Linked DNA regions of Homo sapiens: region 2 is linked to region 1. Evidence: promoter capture Hi-C in human tissues and cell types (Jung and others, 2019). All regions are on one chromosome and are shown on one strand. The core of a region is centred on a gene start or on the middle of the fragment in contact, and the rest is flanking DNA. Distances in the headings are between cores, read along the strand shown. Region 1 holds the start of CNBD1 (cyclic nucleotide binding domain containing 1). Region 2 overlaps CNBD1 (cyclic nucleotide binding domain containing 1).

What was found. Contacts are between HindIII fragments. The study calls those that stand out against the background at their distance.
Region 2: a fragment that was not itself captured here is called in contact with the fragment with the promoter of CNBD1 in region 1 in 3 of the 25 tissues and cell types used here (liver, pancreas and spleen).

What each region holds. Positions count from the first base shown.
Region 1 is chr8:86,862,174-86,868,322 of GRCh38, reverse strand. CNBD1 (cyclic nucleotide binding domain containing 1) reads right to left here and starts at 1,908. Exons shown (of 11, transcript NM_173538.3): 1 at 1,740-1,908. The coding sequence starts at 1,827. The HindIII fragment of the contact is 15,353 bases long and covers 1-6,149 here.
Region 2 is chr8:86,958,665-86,964,492 of GRCh38, reverse strand. The region is part of intron 4 of CNBD1 (cyclic nucleotide binding domain containing 1); the gene reads right to left. Among named protein-coding and RNA genes, the nearest start is that of CNBD1, 95 kb to the right of the region's middle. The HindIII fragment of the contact is 4,541 bases long and covers 572-5,112 here.

The DNA of each region.
Region 1 (6,149 bases), core at 659-3,158:
TTACAGAGAAGGTGAATATGAGTCACTAAATCCAACCTAACTCAACAAATACAAAGTATCAAGGATGTATACAATGGCTGGATTTTCTTTTTAGGTATGTAAATGTGCATTCCTATTTATGCCCACTGCATTTAAAACTCATTTATATATCCTTTGTAATTCAGGTTCAGTCATTTCATAAATTGAAAGCATTCATTACACATTGGCTTCCATGAGATCATTGTTTCAGCAGTGAGACAATCAGTGCTTGCTAAGGAAAATTATTGTCTTGCTACAGTTAGCAAAAAGACACAGTTATTAAGGCAAGCAGGGCACGTCCTCAAAGAGAAGTTGCAGACATAGAAACATCAAGTGCGAACCTCTAAAGGAACACTGGGAGCTCCACCGCTTTCCATTATGCTCTATTCAGTTCTGAGATCTAAATTGCTGCTGATTTTTCGTCTTTTAATCACTTCACAGAAGTTAAGTGTCCTTGGGAGGCACTACAGAGGGTAGCACAAATCTCATCTCATTGATTCTAAATTAATTTGATCTTTTAACTCCCAGCTACCGAGTTTCCTGGGCTTTTTAAAAATATTATTTTATGGTGACTTTTATTTTCTTTTTCACAAATAAAACATGAATAGTAGAAGCTGTGTTTCTTCAGCAAAATTGCACTTAATTCTTATTTCCACTCAAGTAGAAATAGAAAACTTTGACCAGATGCAAGATTATTTTCACTATAATACAAATGGAATTAATTTTGTTTAACATAAGGATTTTGTCTAACACTATTCAAGACATCAGTGTACCCCTTCAAGGAGTATCAACTGCCACCTGTTATACCTTTTAACCTGGAGACTATGAGCATTAATTTTTTAAAATGTATTTGGAGAAATTAACTTTCACAGGAAGGGAAAAGGATGGATGGCTTAGCTTCTTCAAATCAATACTATAAATCTGCCCAATGAATAATAAAATAAGAGTTAATGCTTTATTGAAGTTGAAAAGGATCACAAGTATTACCTTTGTTATCCAGATATTTTTTAAAAATCTTAACTAACACTGGAACTCATACATATTGCTAGTCAGAATGATGGTGTTCAAATAATAGATCTTATAAATTCGATGGCCATGAGAAGTGTTTACAATCTTAAGAAAACGTTATAGGTTTAGACTAATTACATAAAATGAGAAAATACTGTCAATTATATAAACTTTGAAATATCTAGTTCTATACTTAATTCTTATAAGTAAGACTAGAAAATAAAAAAGTTAAATAGGAATAAATTTCACAGTCAGAATAGTAGGAATTATCTTTTTTTCCTTGTCAAATTGAAATGAGAATTCTCCTAGAGAATATTAAGTATTAATTATCCCATTAAGCGTAGTAGGACCAACTCTTGGTAGGGAGTAGAAGATCTGCTAGAAAAAGGAACCTGATAGCTGGTGGAACATGTGGCCTCTCTAAATCTTTGTTTTCTTTCATCTTTAGAAATATTTCAATGTATCTGAAGCTCTAAGAGTTCGTAAAGATCCTCATTTTACAGAGAAAAAATACTTAAGACCTAGAGTACTGAAATGACTTCAAGTAGACCAAGCAGGATTTACACATCTATGTTCTTTCCATTCTTCAGCACTGTCAATAAGATTCCCAATGTCCCTATCAACCCTGAAATACCCCCAATTTTCATAGCTGGGGTAAGAACCGCTGAAAACAATGGTAGGTGAATAAGAGCATCAAAGTATTTCCCACTCACTTGGTATACTGTGAAGTGGAGGAGGAGGCACATTGTTAATAGCTGTCATGTGAGACAAAATAGCTGCTGGAAGAGAAGACATCGGCATCTTGATGGCTCAAAGGCAGATAGATGACCAGAGGCTGCTTGAGAGGCAAATGATCACTCTTTGCCTGCAGGCTCATAAAGCAGAACTTCAAGGTCCTCTCTGATAGGTTGAATCCTACGGAATCTTCTTGTTCATAGTTCTTATCCATTGTTTGTGCATTTCCAAGAGTGTCATCTAGACCAGGAAGAACTATGCTACATTTTAGTCCAGTGGAAATCATAAGGAGGACTTTATGAGCTATAGAGAGTAGCAATAATGAAGAAGGAAACTGTAGCCCACAAGGCTGATACAGCAGAATCAACAGCACTCATGAGTCTAGGTGAAATGAAAGTATTCACTTCCTTGGTCTTCCATAGTCCAGAGCCCTTTTCCTGCCTACCAAATGTTTACACTGGGTATCACAGGCCCTTTCTGTACCAGCAGTAACAGAGATAGCATATTTATACTGTTCTTCATGGCCACATTTATAGGGTAAACCATCCCTTCTAATTATCATACACCAATAAACCCACCCCAGCTTACATTTAACTATATTCTGCTAGAGTGTGGAACATGTTTTTTTGTTATTTTCTGCTGCTTCACAATAATTAAGGATAGTTACAATGGCTAGGGTTTACAATCCTAACTAATGTATCTTTTGATGCTGTGTATTATCTTCCAAGGCCTTTAGAAATAGGGTCCTGGTATCATAACTGTTAGAGTGATACGGACAGGAGACAGGGAAACACTGGGTAGAAGAGGGCAGTTCCCCAGTAAAGGCCCCACCCTCAAGCCTGGAGACCTGCGGCCCTAGATTGGGACAGGCATTCCTGTTTTTGCACCTAAAAAGTTGCCTTTTGGCCTGCAACACACCCTATCCTGTACCCATATAAACCCTGAATCCCAGGCTCCAGAAGCAGACGAAGAGATGAGACAAATAGATGAATGGCAGAATGACAGGCAGAGAAAGTGAGAAAAGGAGGAACATCTGAACACTGAGAGGAGTTCAGCCACTGTACGGCCAAACTCCAGGGGAAGATCATTTTCCCACTCCATCCCCCTTCCAGCTCCCCATCCATCCTGCTGAGAGCCACCTCCACCACTCAATAAAACCCTGAGTTCTTCCTTCAAGCCCATGTGTGACCCAGTACTTCTGGGATGCTGGGCAAGAATTCAGGATACAGAAAGCTATCACACTGGCCCTCTACCCTTGTGAAAAGGCAGAGGGTCCATTGAGCTTGTTAACATCAAGCCATCCATGGAGGGTAGGGCTACAAGGGCACACTGCAACACAATGCCCACTTGGGCTCCTGCACCTGTCCGTCTGTGTGCTCCCCCTCCCCACAGGGTTTGAGCAGCAGCGATGACCAACCAAGCAGGCAAACCACAGCCCTGTCACACATTCTGTGAGGGGAATCAGGGAACTCCCCCATTTCATCAGGTAATATACAAAAGGACTGTGGCTGTCTGATACCTGAACTGGACTAGCAGAGTGTAAACCAACCATTTCTGGAGCAACTTCATCTAGATAACATTAATAACTAGAATAGAAAACATTAATTATGTTACAAAAGTAACAAATTTATTTTGCAACAGTTTCTATTAAATTATATCTGCACAATAAATTTACTCAGGTTATAACTTTTCAATTGAATGTATTTTCCTATTTCCAGTTTTACAAACTCCAAACTCACCATAGACTCAATTTTGTTGTTGAGTCTCATCACTATTGTTTTTTTTTTTTCTGGAGACCAAGTCTCACTCTGTCACCCAGGCTGGAGTGCAGTGGCTCAATTCTGACTCATTCCAACCTCCACCTCCCGGGTTCAAGTGATTCTCCTGCCTCAGCCTCCCGGGTAGCTGGGATTACAGGCAGGTGCCACCACGCCCAGCTGATTTTGTATATTTAGTAGAGACACGGTTTCACCATGTTAGCCAGGCTGATCTTGAACTCCCGACCTCTGGTGATCTGCCTGCCTTGGTCTCCCAAAGTGCTAGGATTACAGGCATGAACCACCACACCCGGCCACATCACTATTCTTCATCTTGCATTCCTTCCACACTAGCCACCTGCCTAGCTCCCACTTCAGAATGGTTCCTTGCCATTCCAACTGTCCCCTTGTTGGTAATCCCTACTGCCATCATTCCACAGGTTTTCTAGATCCATTCTCTTCCTAGTCGCACATTTAAAACCCAAAGAAATGAAGACGTGAATTTTTCATGGATGTTAAGCAGAAGGGACTATATAAAATGCTTTTTTTCTCTGACGAACAGTTCTAATCAAACAAATGTAAGAGAGGAAGTTTCCTAAGGCCCTAAAATTGTGATGACCGATTTCCTCTCTGATTCCAAGTTAGCAGTTCTTATTTTTATTTATTTTCTAGTTATCTTCCTGCTTTTCCATATTTTCACCTTTCTCTTTTCTGTATTTCATATGTAATAAACTTTACACACTGAATGCCATATAATATCGTAGTTCATATCAACCTGGACCTTGCTTGAAAATAATTTTAAAGAAAAAATGAGAAGTGACAATGCAAGTAAACAAGAACATTAAGGAGTAAATAGCAAAATAAACAACTAAAATAGCTTACTGAATTTTATCTAAGTCTCTGTAATATTCATAATTGCGTGTGAGCATCTGCTAGTACCTGCTGATATATGTCCAGAGAAAATCCATCAAATCACAAATTCAGCTCTCCTAAATGTTTTTTGCTAGGCTTTTCAATGTATTCTGAATTCTTTTGAAATTCATTCAAAGAATAATAACATAATCACACAATTTGTCTTTGAGAGATAGCTGTATTACATTGTTTACCAATGCCTGGACAGTAAAGTCTAATTGTTTCCCAACCACTTACTTACAAAATTATCTTGGAGAAGTCACTTAATCCACCTTGGCCTCAATATCCTGATCTATGCAGGGGTAATGATAATACCTCATACAAATATTATGAATATTAAATAATGAAAAAAGGTCCTAGCACAGTACCTATAGTAATAACTCCATTTTTATTAGTAATATTACTATTGCTGAAGTAAACTTTGAAAAACTCATATGGATTAAATATTTTTAATACTTTAGTAAAAGACAAAAAGATAAAGTCATTCTGAAGAGAAACCAGAGCATAAATATTTTTAATACTTTAAATATTTTTTTAAAAGTATATTTAATATGAGTTCCATTTATTCCTGCTACACAGTCACCAGTAGTATATTACAGGTTCATTTTTCAGGATGTACCTTAAGTATTCATTCTGTATTGCAAAAACCAATAATAATAATAACGAAATTTACCATGACACTATTTCTAGATACTATTCTAGTGTCTATTAACATTTCTAGACACTATTAACATATTTAATATATCAAATATGCCCTATTTTGATTTTGAGTGTTTAATTCTGGTATTATATTTTTAACTCTATTTATTAGAAAAGATATGTCAAATTAAGATAACTGGCATAATTTTATTAAGAGATCTCAAAAGATTTTCCAAAACAATGTCCCTGTTGGTCTGAAGATACACAAGTATAACATATGTTATACCCAAGTCATTTCACTGGATAAATGTTAACTAAGCATAGTTCCAATGCTTTTATAACCCGTAGCTGATGCATGTAATGTTTAAATGGCAAAGCCCAAAGAGACAACAAGCAAAAGTCCAAAACTTCTCCTGAGCACTGGCAGATAGGCTCTCAGGAGACATATCCCAGAAGATATTTCAGAATCCTAAAACTGTGGAAATCTATTAATAGGAAACAATCTCACAATATAATCAATACAGATGGAGTAAGGTAAATTTAGATCATTCTGGGGTCTGCAGGAGAAAAAAAGGGTATAAAATGGAGGCTTTTAGTTTGTTGAAGTTGTACACACTGCAGTTTTAGTTTGTGAAGTAGGGTAGACAAGTTGAGATACTTTTTAGAAATAATATAAAAGACAGGTCAGCCTAGAGAATAAGGAGTAGGAGAAGAGAGTGAGAGAAAAAGTGGGCAGTAATCATAGACAGGCTTTTAGGGGAAGAAACAAATTATTTGGAGAGGATTTCTAGCGATTTTTGCAATATAAAAAATCACTCCATCACTCCAAAAATATAGATTTTTTTCAGTAAAAATTAAATGTTAGTTAAATTTAAGTTTTGGGGGGAGTACAAGAACATTTTAAGACTGGCTTCAAAAAGTCCTAGCAAAAGCAAGAGGGTTTTGGTCACTTTGAGGTTAATGGAGAAGATATTCACACACAGAAGGCATTTTGAAAGAGTAATTTCAGAGTATATTCACATCCAAGGAAAATTACATTTTTTGATATCCTTGCTTTTTATAAAGCAATGAAATTTTACA
Region 2 (5,828 bases), core at 1,593-4,092, 95 kb before region 1:
GGATGTCATGTTACTTTTGCATCAAACCCTGACCACTGCTGAAAAGCAGGCCACCCTGCAAGTGGCAGAGAATTTTTAGGATAAGCTTTACATCTTATATAGGACCAGGGAAGGGGATGAGCCTTATCTAGTTGGAAGAATAGCAGTACCATTGGAGAACACTAAATGGGACCCCAATGATGAAACGGGAGAATGGAAAAGGAAGCCCTTACAGGTGTGCATATTGGATGGCTTGCAAGGGACTGGGACTAGACCTCTTGATTGCACTGGGCTATCCATGGTAGACCAGGGATTGGATGAGAGTCCCACTGCCTTCCTCAGAAATCTAAGAGGGGACTTCAGCCCCTGATATCAGGAGGAAGCTACAGAAACAGGCCATACGACCAGAGAGTACTATAGAGGACCTCTGGAAGTGGCCACCTTGGCCTTTTAAAATAGGATTGGGAGGCCCAAGAGAGGGAAGGAGACACAAGAAAAAGACAGAGGCTCTAATAACCAACTTGCAGGCTCACAAACCTCAGAGTCCTCACAATGCACCTGTCAACTGCTGCAAATGTAGATCATTGGAGGGCAGACTGTCCCTGAGACATGGGTGGCAAGGTCCAGATTGCCATCTCCCAAATGGTGCAGCAGGACTGACTGGTCCCAGGGTTCCTTTCGTTGACTCTGGTGGTTCAGACTGTCATTGCCATCCAGGAGCTAGGGTGATTCTAGGGATCAAGGAAAGGAGGTTGGACCTCCTCCTGGACTTGAGCAGGCCTTTCAGTTCTCTTCTCCAACCTAGGTCCGCCTCCTCTCTTAGCATGACCGTGAAGGGCATCTCAGGAAAAACCCAATCTCTTAGTTGTCACCTTCGTAGGCCAGGTCCCCAGTTACTGGGACTCCCTTTCTCTCTCCCTTGTTTGAGGAGGACTTGGCCCCACAGCTTCACCTACTTGTGATAGGGAGGCAATGGTAGAGCAGCCCCTGCCAGTTGCTAGCTGCAATTTGGCAAGGGCTATCTGGGACCAATTTAATGGGTTCATACACCCCCCTGAGGCACCTTTTTCTCCGAAGCTTCAGTTTGAAGCCCTGGAATGGAACAATAGACCTGAGGCAGATGACAGCGGGAGTCGAAGGGCACAGTGCAGGTGAGCATGACTAATTCCTGACAATTAGGCCTCCTGCTTCATGGATGGGAATATCATGCTTACATACATGGCATAGATAGGGTCTAGGGAACTCAAATGTGACGGAGAGTGGGAGGCTTAGGCTCTGCTCAGGTGCATGCCTGTCAGCTATGCCTCCAACTTCATGGGTGAAGGTTGCACTTGCACCCATGGTCAGCACCTGCACAGGTCACCGGAACTCAGGGATATAAGGTCGAAATAATTAAGAGGGATGCCTTTTCTCCCTGTCACATACCCCGGGTATTCGCTAGGAAGAGAGAGGAACAAAGGGAAGCCTTTTACTCCTCTTTCCAGATGGGTAACCAGTGAATCATTTTCAGCCTGCACTCCTCAAGTGTATCCTAAATCACTGGACTCCTTTGACCCTCAGGCTGGAGAAAGAAAATAGCTTTTTCCCCTTCACAGGACTCCAGGGTCAAAGCACTCCATGTCTCAGGGGAAGGGAACCCAGAAGCCTGACATGCCAGCAAAAGGGTAAAGGTTCTTGCCAGTCAGATTTCTAGCTTCTGTTTTGTTTTTTGTTTTTTGTGTTTTTTTTGAGATGGAGTCTTGCTCTGTTGCCCAGGCTGGAGTGTCGTGGCACCATCTCAGCTCACTGCAAGCTCTTCCTCCCAGGTTCATGCCATTCTCCTGCCTCAGCCTCTCGAATAGCTGGGACTACAGGCACCTGCCATCACACCCAGCTAAGTTTTTTGTATTTTTAGTAGAGACGGTGTTTCACCGTGTTAGCCAGGATGGTCTTGATCTCCTGACCTCGTGATGTGCCCGCCTCAGCCTCCCAAAGTGCTGGGATTACAGGTGTAAGCCACTGTGCCCGGCCTCTGACTTCTCTTTCTCTGTGCAAACTGGTAGCAGGAAGGATAAAAATCACTGTATTCTCTGCCCCTCCAAGAATTCAAATGGCCATTTGGCATGGCTAAAGTCAGGAAATAAGAGATTTAAAATGACTTTAAAAAGGGGTGCTATAGTTAAAAGTTAGCTTATTTAAAAGTAGATGTCCATGGTTATCAAAGCTATAGGTATATTTAAAAGGCCTGTATGTCTTTTCTCATGGATCTTCTTTTTCTGGAAAAAGGTTTTATCAGTCGACTGAATTAGTCTCCATTTTTGTCTTACCATTCTTATTGCACACATGAAGGGCCCCAAGATAACCTCTGAAGTCCTGGGACTTCTTGGGAAAACAAAGGAGGCATCATTGATTCATTTTTGAAAAAAACCTCTGTTTTCCTCATGGAGTGCCAGGGATTACAAGTGGATGTATCCCTCTCAAAATCTGTTCTTGTCTTCCAGCTATTCCTACTTATTAGGCCATAGAACCTGCCTGCATGTTTTCCTAGACCTGGTTCTTGAAGTGCTCCACCCCTAGGGTTAGCAATGCAAATAGGAGATTGGCACATGAAAAATCTTACAAGTACTGAATCTCCTTCAGTCTGTGTAGTTACACATGTGTTATGTGTATGATGTTTATATAAAAGAGCTCTGATTGGCTTAAAGAAAATCAAGTGCTTAGATCAACTATTTTGAAAGAAAAATAAAGCTGCAATGCCTTTTACTTCATGGCTGTCACTCTGGTGGAACAGGAAGCCTGAGAAAGCATGGCCTTACAAAGATCGTGGTAGGCCATTGCCTCTGGAGGGAGAAGACAAAGCAGCACTAGTGCCTACCTAAGGTCAGAGACATCTGACACTCTAAGGTTGGATCCCACAGGGGGACATCCCAGGGGATCCTCTGGACCTCCACCTCTCCAAACGGGATGCCCTTGGCAGAGGTTCTGAGGTCTAGTACTAAACCCTCCTTAGAATTTTCTCTCACAGTTACAATACTGTTTGGCCCCAATATTGTATGGAATCTGGAGTTTACTGTTGAATAGGAAAGTAAGATTGCATTGCATGTATCCAGGGTTTTGTGCTGCTGTTCTAAGCAGGGGGCCTGTTTTAACTTGTGATGTTCTCCTTTGGTGCTGTTTGGCCCCAGTGTTCTTTGGAGTCTGGGGAAGTTTGGCTTTTAAAAATCAAACTGTCATAGAAACCAATTTACCTGAAATTTTGGTTCACAGCCTTCATTGGATTGTCTATTGGGGCAAACAAAGTAAAACTGGTAAGCTTGTAGTGCTATCTTATGGCTAGGGTTCCAAGCTATTGGATCTTCATTTGTGTATGTATACATGTCTAGATGTGTTTATTTGTACACTTACTGTCATATGTTATAACAACATATATTGCTATATATAAACAGGCTAGCTTTAAAATTATTGGTAAAATAAAAGTAGAAATGTCTTCAAAATGTAGACATGGTCTAAATTATGCAAGTCAGAAACTAGGTTGGTGAAAGGCTTTAAGGTCATAAACTGCTTTGGCTTTTGAAAATTGTTCTGTTTGTTAGTTTTCCTTCTAACAGTCAGGACCCTGAGCTGCAGGTCTGTTGGAGTTTGCTGGAGGTCCACTCCACAACCTGTTTGCCTGGGTATCACCAGCGGAGACTGCAGAACAGCAAATATTGCAGAATGGAAGATGTTGCTGCCTGATCCTTCCTCTGGAAGCTTCGTCTCAGAGGGGCATCCAGCTGTATGAGGTGTCACTTGGCCCCCACTGGGAGATGTCTCCCAGTTAGGCTACTCAGGGATCAGGGACCCACTTGAGGAGGCAGTCTGTCCATTCTCAGATCTCCAGCTCCGTGCTGGGAGAACCACTACTCTGTTCAAAGCTGTCAGACAGGGACGTTTAAGTCTGCAGAAGTTTCTGCTGTCTTTTGTTCAGCTATGCACTGCCCCGAGAGGTGGAGTCTACAGAGGTAGGCAGGCTTCCTTGAGCTGAGGTGGGCTCCACCCAGTTCAAGCTTCCCGGCCACTTTGTTTACCTACTCAAGCCTCAGTGACAGTGGACGCCCCTCCCCCAGCCTCACTGCCACCTTGCAGTTCGATCTCAGACTGCTGTGCTAGCAGTGAGTGAGGCTCTGTGGGTGTGGGACCCTCTGAGCCAGGAGCGGGATATAATCTCCTGGTGTGCCGTTTGCTAAGACTCTTGGAAAAGTGCAGTATTAGAGTGGGAGTGTCCTGATTTTCCAGGTACTATCTGTCATGGCTTCCCTTGGCTAGTAAAGGGAATTCCCTGACCCCTTGTGCTTCCTGGGTGAGGCGATGCCCCACCCTGCTTTGGCTCACACTCTGTGGGCTGCACCCACTATCCGACAAGCTCCAGTGAGATGAACCTGGTACCTCAGTTGGAAATGCACAAATCACCCATCTTGTGCATTGCTTACACTGGGAGCTGTAGACTGGAGCTGTTCCCATTTGGCCACATCGGTAGGTCACCATCATCAAAGACCAAAGGTAGATAAAACAACAACGATGGGGAGAAACCAGAGAAGAAAAGCTGAAAATTCTGAAAATCAGAGCCCCTCTTCTCTCCAAAGGAACAAAGCTCCTCGCCAACAACGGAACACAGCTAGATGGAGAATGACTTTGACGAGTGGAGAGAAGAAGGCTTCAGATGATCAGTAATAACAAACTTCTCTGAGCTAAAGGAGGATGTTTGAGCCCATCGCAAGGAAGCTAAAAACCTTGAAAAAAGATTAGATGAATGGCTAACTAGAATAAACAGCATAGAGAAGACCTTAAATGACCTGATGGAGCTGAAAACCATGGCACAAGAACTATGTGATGCATGCACAAGCTTTAGTAGCCGATTCAATCAAGTGGAAGAAAGGGTATCAGTGACTGAAGATCAAATCAATGAAATGAAGTGAGAAGGGAACTTTAGAGAAAAGAGAATAAAAAGAAATGAAGAAAGCCTCCAAGAAATATGGGACTATGTGAAAAGACCAAATCTACATCTCATTGGTGTACCTGAAAGTGACGGGGAGAATGGAACCAAGCTGGAAAACACTCTTCAGGATATTATTGAGGAGAACTTCCTCAACCTAGCAAGGCAGGCCAACAATCAAATTCAGGAAATACAGAGAACGCCATGAAGATATTCACTAAGAAGAACAACTCCAAGACATATAATTGTCAGATTCACCAAAATTGAAATGAAGGAAAAAATGTTAAGGGCAGCCAGAGAGAAAGGTTGGGTTACCCACAAAGGGAAGCCCATCAGACTAACAGTGGATCTCTTGGCAGAAACTGTACAAGCCATAAGAGAGTGGAGGCCAATATTCAACATTCTTAAAGAAAAGAATTTTCAACCCAGAATTTCATATCCAGTCAAAATAAGCTTCATAAGTGAAGGAGAAATAAAATCCTTTAGAGACAAACAAATGCAGAGAGATTCTGTCACCACCAGGCCTGCTTTACAAGAACTCCTGGAGGAAGAACTAAACATGGAAAAGAACAACCGGTACCAGCCACTGCAAAAACATGCCAAATTGTAAAGACCATTGACACTAGGAACAAACTGCATCAACTAATGAGTAAAATAACCAACTAATGAGTAAAGTAACCAGCTAATATCATAATGACAGGATCAAATTCACACATAACAATATTAATCTTAAATGTAAATGGGCTAAATGCTCCAAATAAAAGACACATACTGACAAATTGGATAAAGAGTCAAGACCTATCAGTGTGCTGTATTCAGGAGACCCATCTCATGTGCAGAGACACACATAGGCTGAAAATAAAGGGATGGGGGAAGATTTACCAAGGAAATGGAAAAC